2 separate regions of the Homo sapiens genome follow, and region 2 is linked to region 1. The links are contacts of gene promoters, found by promoter capture Hi-C in human tissues and cell types (Jung and others, 2019). All regions are on one chromosome and are shown on one strand. The core of a region is centred on a gene start or on the middle of the fragment in contact, and the rest is flanking DNA. Distances in the headings are between cores, read along the strand shown. Region 1 holds the start of STX12 (syntaxin 12). Region 2 overlaps WDTC1 (WD and tetratricopeptide repeats 1).

Region 1 (4,830 bases), core at 977-3,476:
GGGACTACAGGCTCAGGCCACTATGCCCAGCTAATTTTTGTATTTTTGGTAGAGATAGGGTTTTGCCATTTTGCCCAGGCTGGTCTCGAACTCCTGAGCTCAAGCAATGATCAGCCTGCCTCAGCCTCCCAAAGTGCTGGAATTCCAGTTGTGAGCCACCGCGCCCAGCCTAAAAACCACTTTTATTTTACATGGAGAAAGAAAACAATATTTTTAATTCCTAAAAGAAAAATATCTTTACTGAACTTCACTTTAAATAGTGTCAAATGTAAATGAAAAAAATCATCAGTACTATTATATAGGTAAAAAAGTGCAATTTACATGACTTGCTTAAGATTTGACATAAAACTACAGATTCTAAGAAACGGTAAGGTTTTATAATAATAACCAAAACAGGCTGGGTGCGGTGGCTCACGCCTGTAATCCCAACACTTTGGGAAGCCGAGGCGGGTGGATCACCTGAGGTCAGGAGTTCGAGACCAGCCTGGCCAACATGGTCAAACCCCATCTCTACTAAAAATACAAAAAGTACCCGGGCGTGGTGGTACACGCCTGTAATCCCAGCTACTCGGGAGGCTGAGGCAGGAGAATCGCTTGAACCCAGGAGGCGGAGGTTGCATTGAGCCGAGATTGCGCCATTGCACTCCAGCCTGGGCAACAGAGCAAGATTCTGTCTCAAAAATAAAATAAAATAAAATAACCAAAATAAGAGTCCCCAAATGTCATCCGTCTCTTTCTAGAGACAGGGAAAAAAAATGCTCTCATAAATTCTCCAACGAAAAATAGAGATAGTCACCCTTAAAAAATCCTAAGGCTGGTGGGTGGATTGCTTGAGCCCAGGAGTTTGAGACCAGCCTGGACAACATGGCCAAACCCCAACACTACAAAAAATATAAAAATTAGCTGGGCGTGGTGGCGCACGCCTGTAATCCTAGCTACTCAGAGGTTAGGTGGTAGGACCTCCTGAGCCCAGGAGAAGGAGGATGCAGTGAGCAGAGATCGCGCCACTGCACTCCAACCTGCGTGACAGAGCGGGACCCTGTCTCAAAAAAAATAAAATAAAGAAAAAATCCTAAGGCCATATACAGGCTCATTCACTTTGGGTCTCCTTTCATCCAGGCAAGCAGCTTTCTGTCTTTGCATTTTCCAAAGACTACAAAGCAGGCTGGGGTGGGGTGGGGTGGGGTGTAGAACACAGGAAACGCAGCCAGTTCCCCTTCACTTCTCACTATCTTGATCTCCTCCCAAACCAAAATCCTATGTCTTTCCTTTTAACATAGGCTTACAAAAATGCAGTTTTCTGTGGGAACATTGAGGTCATGCATTCCAAATTACTTAAGGGAACGATTTTTAAATTTTAGGAATCTAGTTCTCCAAGATATCCCGGCTTGGGATATAGATGAACGAGCTATTTGGGAGAGATTTAGACGAGAATGAATTTTAGAGAAGTAGCGAGGTGAGGAGAGAGTCAGCTTAGCGTTTGGGTTTTGCAGTCAAATTTCAGCAAGGCGAACTAACCTCGCTGGTCTTAATTTTCTCATCGGTAAGAGGGAAAATAATAATGCTTACTTTGATGAATTACTTTACTTCAACATTTAAAAAACCGACTCTCCGTTATCTATTCTAATGATAAAAATATAGATAGAGCATCGTCCCCTGCTGTGAAAAATCTTATGAACAAGTGAATTGCGGTGAGGATTCACATAGTATGTGCTCAATAAACATTATTTTATTGTTTAGATTAGAAGAGGGGTGGAGGGAGAAATGAAAGTGGTTTGGAAACCCCAAACACTACCAAAGCCCTGGGGATGGAAGTAGAGAGGAATTTCGGGTTACGATTTGGTTCCGGGTCTGAGTTTCAACGTTGAATTCTCCCATATTTGGGCCTGAATTCTCAGAACAGAATAGGATGTAAGGGCTGAGATCATCTGGTACAGTTTTATGCAAATCGAAAATTCTTGCCTCTTGTCACTGTGCCCTGGCGAGAAACAACACCTCCACCCAAGCTCATCCAATCTCAGCCCCAACTAGGTGACGTCATCTCCCCGCCCTGCATCCCCAAGCCTCGGGGAGTCCTGTCTCTAAGCTACAGTCCCAGCTCCAGTCCCAGCTCCAGTCCCAGCGGCGCCTGCGCACTTTGGACCGGGGCGGGGAGGACGCGTGCGCGCCGCGTGAGGGCGGGGCTAGTGCGCACGCAGCCTTAGCTCCTTCCCCGCCCTTGCTCTTCCCAGTTTCTCCGTCAGCCTGCGGGTCCCGGCTGGCGGCTGCTTCCGGTAGGAGAGCGGTGTAGAGCGAGCAGGTCTCAGCTCCTCGTCATGTCATACGGTCCCTTAGACATGTACCGGAACCCGGGGCCCTCGGGGCCCCAGCTCCGGGACTTCAGCAGCATCATCCAGACGTGCAGCGGCAACATCCAGCGGATCAGCCAAGCCAGTGAGCCGGGGTACCGAGCTGGGGGGCGGGAGCTGTCCCGGGGACAGGCCTGGGTGAGGCTGCCGGGACGCAGGGCCCGGCTGGGGCTACGGCCGAGGCCACACCTGGGGCTGTCTCGGGCTGTCCACCCTGGGGGCGGTGGGCTGCCATCCCCCAATCTGTCAGGCCCGGGTTGCCCGAGGGTCCCCGGCCCCAGCTGAAGCTTGAGCTGCTTCTCTGGAGTTCTGCCCCCACGGTGCTGGGACCAAAACAGCCGACTTGACAGCCCGAGGGTGGGAAGGGGAGTGTGTGTCACCTCGAGAGCTGTGAGTGCGTTGACTTGGCGCAGTGGTCAGCCGAGTTTCTCCTGTCACCCACCTTCCTCCCCACCCACCTCGCTTTCCTCTTAGACCAGTTTGGATGGGGTTGTTTACTGATTTAGCCTTTAGGTTTACATTCTGCTCAGCCCCTGGCTCCTCGGAAATCAGCAACTTTCAATTAAGGGAAGTGGAGAGTGCATGTGTTTGGGTGACTTCATACACAGTTCTTCCTGTAATGAATTCGGAAATCAGACACAATGACTGGTATTTGAAAGGTGGGATGACTTCATTTTAATAAAGAGAATTCACCAACAGCATTTCAATTTACATTATTTTGTCTTTTGTAACAAATAATTGGGGTGTATTTTTGGATTTCAGGCAGATGAGGCTTTTGTTTTCCTTCCCTACTTAGCTGCTCTTGAACAAATCTGGTACACAGGGAAGCTAAGACACTTAGCCACAACCACATAGCAAGTAAGGCATGGTAGAGTTGTTGGTGGAATTCAGAATGCTATTGCTTGTCTTAAAACTCCCTCCTCCCCATTAGGGTCTGAGTGAAACTGTAGCTGAATGAGTCAAATACAGGGTGTTTCTTGTGCTTGAAAATCATCTTGGAGCCTTATAAACAGGAGATCAGCAGCAGCTTTACTTGGAAAGAATGGTGGTCATCATCCTTGTTGTTTATTATTGTTTTGTGAGCTTGGCGTACTCTGTTAATAGGTAGAACTAGTTAGTCCTGAATTACAATTATATTCTATATTTTAAAGAGTGTCACTTTGCTTTCGTTTTTAAACTTTTAAAAATTTTTCTTTTTTGTAGAGATGAAGTCTTGCTATGTTGGCCAGGCTGGTCTCAAACCCCTGGGCACAAGCACTTCTCCCACTTTAGCCTCCCAAAGTGCTGGGATTACAGGCGTGAGCCACTGTGCCTAGCCTAATTTTTTTGATTTAAAATATTTTTAATTTATTTTTTCGAGACAGAGTCTACTTCTGTCACCCAGGCAGAATGCAGTGATCTGAGTGAAGTGGTACAATCCTAGCTCACTATAACCTTGAATTCCTGATCAGCTTGCTGAGTAGCAAGGACTACAAGGATGCATCTACCGTGCCAGGCTAATTTTTAAATTTTTTGTAGGGATGGGGTCTCACTATGTTGCCCAGGCTCACTTTGCTTTTAAATCTAAATGTATATTGTAGAATTTGAGAAGTAGAAAGTTTCTGATCAAAAGGGATTGAGACTCTGGAAGTGAAAGGAAGAATATGTGGCCTGTTAAAATCCAGAAGTAAAAAAAATTAATATGACCACTGGTTAGAAAGTATAGTACTGTTTGTTCCAGTTTCCTTTTGTGAAGGAGCTGTAATACAGGTTAGATCAGAAAATTCTAGTTCAAGGCTGAAATTTTCTTGTTGAAGCTAAATCTAATTTTAATATCTATTTGCGAAATATTCATTCAACATGTATCCATCTATCCATCTTCGTGTGTATTTTATATATATATAAAACCAGAATACTCCCAAAGGTAGATCCGACATACAGTTTTAAATTTAAATTTAAATTTTTATTTTGAGACAGGGTCTCACTCTGTCACCCAGGCTGGTATGCAGTGGCATGATCTCAGCTCACTGCAGCCTCAACCTCCCTGGCTCAAGCAGTCCTCCTGCCTCAGCCCTACAAGTAGCTGGGACTACAGGTGTGCACCACCACGCCCGGCTAATTTTTATATTTTTTGTAGAGATGGAGTTTCACCATGTTGTCCAGTCTGGTCTTGAACTCCTGTGCTCAAGTGATCCACCCACCTTGGCCTCCGAATAGGCCAGGATTACAGGCATGAATCATCATGCCTGGCCTTCAACATATATTTATTTGAGTATGTAGTAAGTATAAGAACTGGCATGGATCTTTCAACAGGGAACCTGCAGAGTTCATAACCAAAATATAAAGTTGAAAGGGATTGGTGCTATAGAAGACATATAAATAACATGCAGGTATTCTGGGAAGAGAGAGATTGTTTTTAATTGAGAAGGCATTATGGCATTTGAGTTATGTCTGGAAAGAGGATGGAAAGATTTGGACCTTCGAAGGTAAAGAGGAGAAGAGC
Region 2 (5,113 bases), core at 1,422-3,921, 530 kb before region 1:
TCAAAGTTGCAGTAAACTGTGATAGTGCTACATTCCATTCCAGCCTGGGGAACAGAGCTAGACCCTGTCTCTTTTTTTTTTGAGACGGAGACGGAGTTTCGCTCCTGTCGCCCAGGCTGGAGTGCAATGGTGCAATCTCGGCTCACTGCAACCTCTGCCTCCCGGGTTCAAGTGATTCTCCTGCCTCAGCCTCCCGAGTAGCTGGGATAACGGGTATGCACCACCACGCCTGGCTAATTTTTTGTATTTAGTAGAGACAGGGTTTCACCATGTTGGTCAGGCTGGCCTCAAACTCCTGACCTCAGGTGATTCACCCACCTCGGCCTCCCAAAGTGCTGGGATTACAGGCGTGAGCCACCGCACCCAGGCGACCCTGTCTCTTAAAAGCTCAAACAGCAATACGGAGCCCACTGGGCAGGGGAGAAGACATCAAGGTGAGTTTTTATCTAAAGCTTCCCAGAAAGTAAAGCATTGCTTAGAAGCAGCTCTCTTCTGCAGAGAAAACCTCAAGCAGTCCTACATGGGATTATTTAAGCCAGGAGCCTCAAAGATGGCTAAGAAGTTTCCTGAAGATGCTTTGGTGATGAGTCTATCCTACCAGCGAAAGCTTTCCCAGAAACTGTCCTTGTACCAACTTAGTCCATGACCTTGAAATGGCACTCTTTAAATTTGTGTTTGAGATCAGCAGAGTCAAGGCAGCTTAACCCTAAGGAATGGTAAGAGACAAAGTTTCAGCAGCTTCCTGAAATTGTATCAATACTGATATTACAGGTGTGAGCCGCTGCTCCCTGGCCAGTAATTTTTTTTTTTTTTTTTTTTTTTTTTGAGACAATGTCTCACTCTGTCACCCAGGCTGAAGTGCAGTGGCATGATCTCGATCTTGGCTCACTGCAACCTCTGCCTCCTGAGTTCAAGTGATTCTCCTGCCTCAGCCTCCCCAGCAGCTGGGATTACAGGCGCCTGCCACCATGTCCGGCTAATTTTTGTATTTTTAATAGAGACAGGGTTTCACCACATTGGCCAGGCTGGTCTGGAACTCCTGACCTCAAGTGATCTGCCCGCCTTGGCCTCCCAAAGTGCTGGATTACAGGTGTGAGCCACCACACCCGGCCCAGTAATTATTATTTAGTGGCCAATGGCCTGGCCCCTGGAGTCAGACTGTATAGGTTGACTCTCTGTCTAAGAACTGTGTAGCTTTGGCAACTTCACTTTTCTGTGCCTCAGATCCTGCATCTGTAAGATGAGGATAACAATAGCACCTGTCTCATAGGATTATTATGAGGAGTCTGTGAGATGACACTTGTAAACTGTTAGAATGTTCAATAAATATTATTTAATAGGATCAGTGTCAGGCATTTTACATGCAAGCGCTTCTGTTCCTCCTCACCCTGCAGAGGTAGGTATTATCAGATTAGGAAACTAAGGTTTAGAAGTGTCAAGTCAGGGTCTGGCATGGTGACTCATGCCTATAATCCCAACACTTTGGGAGGCTGAGGTGGGCAGATCGCTTGAGCCCAGGAGTTCGAGACCAGCCTGGGCAGCATGGTGAAACCCCATCTCTACAAAAAAAAAAAAAAAAAATGCAAAAATTAGCCAGGTGTGTGTGGGTGGTGCATGCCCGTGGTCCCAACTACTCGGGAGGCTGATGAGATGGGAGGATCTCTTGGGCCCGGGAGGCAGAGGTTGCAGTGAGCTGAGATCATGCTACCACACTCCAGCCTGGGTGACAGAGCCAGACCCTGTCTCAAAACAAATAAAAATTTTTTTAAAAAAATTAAAAAGATGAAGAGACGTAAGAGGTATAGAAAAGAAAAAAAAATTTAAAAGAAATGTCAAGTCAGACAGAAAATAGGTGTCAGAACTGGGATTTGAACCTAAGATCTGTTAGGTCCACAGCTACACTCTTCATTTTATTATGCTCTTTCTTTCTTTTGTTTTGTTTTGTTTTTGAGACAGCGCCTCACTTTGTCACACGGGCTGGAGTGCAGAGGCACAATCATAGCTCAATATAGCCTCAAACTCCTGGGCTCAAGCAATTCTCCCTCCTCCCTCCTGCCTCAGCCTTCCTAGTAGCTAGGACTACAGGAGTGTGCCACCATGCCTGGCTAATTTTTAAAAAACTTTTTTATAGAGACAGGATCTTACTCTGTTGCCCAGACTGCTCTCGACCTCCCGGCCTTCAAGTGATCCTCCTGCCTCGGTCTCCCAAAGCACTGAGATTACAGGCATGAGCTACCACACCTGGCCTTATGTTATTTCCAATGACCTTTATGCATTGAAAGTGAAGTTGAGTCCTTGCTTCGTTGCATCTTTCATCTTTTTTGTAGGATTGCTCCAATAGAACCACTATAAATAGAGTGAAAGGAAACTTGCATACATCTTTGCATAATTCAGAATGTTGAAAGGGGGTCAGTTGTCACCCTGGTTGGGGGCACGTCTCTGCTATGGGAGGTAGCATGTCCAGAGGAAAGAGAATACAGATGTTTTAGGTTCCATCTCTGGTCTGCTGCTAACCAGTAGTGTCTACTTAAAATCTCAGCATAGTGTCATCGGAAGGGGTTTTGTAGCTTATCTCAGAGTCCACCTCTCATTTTACAAACGGCAGAATAGACTGAGAGAGCAAAATGCCTCACTCAGGGTCATACAGCCAGTTAAAGGCAGAGGCTGGCTTGGAGCACAAGACCCTAGATCTCCCAGTCCAGTGCTTCTTCCTCAGTACCATGTAGTATTCTGCTTCACTTCTCCCTTGTTAAATGGGGATTATTATCGTACATGAATATTCATAGCAGCATTATTCATAGCAGCGTTATATTAGCTTTCTAACTTCCTAAAAGGATTGTTGCAAAGTTCAAATTAAAAGCTTGAACAAAAGTGCTTTGATAGGTATAAAACATTGTGTGTAAGGCAGTCATGCCATTATTCATTCAGCAAATATTTATTGGTGCCTGCTAAGCTTACATCACTCCTGGAAGACCAGTGGGATCAATGGATGAATCGGATGAAGAGCAGGCCCTCAGCATGCTTTTAATCTTCTAAGAAAGAGAAGCCACGTAAATAACCACAGCTCAAGGTAGGAGACAGATGAAGGAAAGGCTAAGAATGGAATTTTCTTTCCATAACCTGTGATTTTGAGGTAGAGAAAAGAAAGGGTTTTTTTTGGTTTTTTTTTTTTGTTTGTTTGTATTTTTGAGACAGAGTCTTGCCCTGTCACCCAGGGTGGAGTGCAATGGCGCAATCTCGGCTCACTGCAACCTCCGCCTCCCGGGTTCAGACGATTCTCCTGCCTCAGCTTCCCGAGTAGCTGGGATTATAGGTGCCTGCCACCATGCACAGCTAATTTCTGTATTTTTAGTAGAGACGAGCTTTCACCATGTTGGCCAGGCTGGTCTCGAACTCCTGACCTCCTGGTCCACCCGCCTTGGCCTCCCAGAAAGTGCTGGGATTACAGGCATGAGCCACTGTAATCCTATGGGACATGCTATGGGAGGTAGCATGTCCAGAGGAAAGAGAATACAGATGTTTTAGGTTCCATCTCTGGTCTGCTGCTAACCAGTAGTGTCTACTTAAAATCTCAGCATAGTGTCATCGGAAGGGGTTTTGTAGCTTATCTCAGAGTCCACCTCTCATTTTACAAACGGCAGAATAGACTGAGAGAGCAAAGGGTTTAAGGTATTTCTTCTTTATTGACATATAATTCACGTACCATAAAATAGACAGTCTCTTAAATTATACAATTCATTGGTTTTAATATAGTCACAAAGTTGTGCAACTTGTCACCACTATCTAATTCCAAAACATTTTCATCACCTAAAAAAGAAACACATACCCTTGAGCTATCACATTCCTCCCCAACACTCCCATCTCTTTCTGTCTCTGTAGGTTTTCCTATTCTTGACATTTCACATAAATAGAACCATACGACATGTAGTCTTTTGTGACTGGCTTCCTTCACTTAGCAGAATGTTTTGAAGTTTCTTCCATGTTGTTGTATGAATTAGTACCTCATTCCTTTTTATGGCTGCATAATATTCCATTACAGTGGATATTAACACATTATATTTATTCATCAATTGATGGCCATTTGGGTTGTTTCTAATTTGGGCTATTATGAATAATGCTGCTCTGAGTATTCATGTACAGCTTTTTGTATGGACATGTGTTTTCTTTCCTTTTTTTTTTTTAGACTGAGTCTTGCTTTGTCACTCAGGCTGGAGTGCAATGGCACGATCTGGGCTTACTGCAACCTCCGCCTTCCAGGTTTAAGCGATTCTTCTGCCTCAGCCTCCTGAGTAGCTGGGATTACAGGTGCCCGCCACCACGCCCGGCTAATTTTTGTATTTTTAGTAGAGATGGGGTTTCACCATGTTGGCCAGGCTGGTCTTGAACTCCTGACCTCAGGTGATCTGCCCACCTCGGCCTCCCAAAGTGCTGGGATTACAGGCGTGAGCCACCACGCCCAGCCATTTTTTTTTTTTTTTTTTTTTCGAAACAGGGTCTCACTCTGTCACCCAGCCTGGAGTCCAGTGCCACAAACATAGCTCACTGCAGCCTCAAACTCCTGGGCCTAAGTAATCCTCCTACCTCGGACTCCCAAAGTGCTGGGATTACAGACGTGAGCCACCGCACCCAGCCTATTTCTGCATTATTATTTATTTAATTAATTAAACTTTTTTTTGAGACAGAGTCTCCCTCTGTTGCCCAGGCTGGAGCAGAGTGGCATGATCTCAGCTCACTGCAACCTCTGCCTCCTGGGTTTAAGCGATTCTCCTGCCTCAGCCTCTCGAGTAGCTGGGATTACAGGTGCCTGCCACCACGCCTGGCTAATTTTTGTATTTTTAGTAGAGACGAGGTTTTACCACGTTGGCTAGGCTGGTCTTGAACTTCTGACCTTAAGTGATCCACCTGCCTCAGCCTCCCAAAATGCTGGGATTAGAGATGTGAGCCACTGTGCCCAGCCTTGTGCAGGTTTTTTATACAGGTAAACTCATGTCATGGTGGTTTGTTGTGCAGATTATTTTGTTACCCAGGTACTAAGCCTAGTACTCAATAGTTATTTTTTCTGATCCTCTTCCTCTTCCCACCCTCCACCCTCAAGTAGGTTCCAGTGTCTGTT

Evidence for each region. The method cuts DNA at HindIII sites, captures the fragments that hold promoters and counts their contacts. A contact is called where the count stands out against the background at its distance.
Region 2: a contact is called between a fragment that was not itself captured here and the fragment with the promoter of STX12 in region 1, in 1 of the 25 tissues and cell types used here (mesenchymal stem cells).

The regions. Positions count from the first base shown.
Region 1 is chr1:27,770,993-27,775,822 of GRCh38, forward strand. STX12 (syntaxin 12) reads left to right here and starts at 2,227. Exons shown (of 9, transcript NM_177424.3): 1 at 2,227-2,433. The coding sequence starts at 2,316. RefSeq lists enhancers at 1,947-2,096, 2,063-2,563, 2,217-2,366, 2,564-3,064 and a silencer at 2,477-2,686. The HindIII fragment of the contact is 12,641 bases long and covers 1-4,830 here.
Region 2 is chr1:27,242,400-27,247,512 of GRCh38, forward strand. The region is part of intron 1 of WDTC1 (WD and tetratricopeptide repeats 1); the gene reads left to right. Among named protein-coding and RNA genes, the nearest start is that of WDTC1, 10 kb to the left of the region's middle. The HindIII fragment of the contact is 4,284 bases long and covers 530-4,813 here.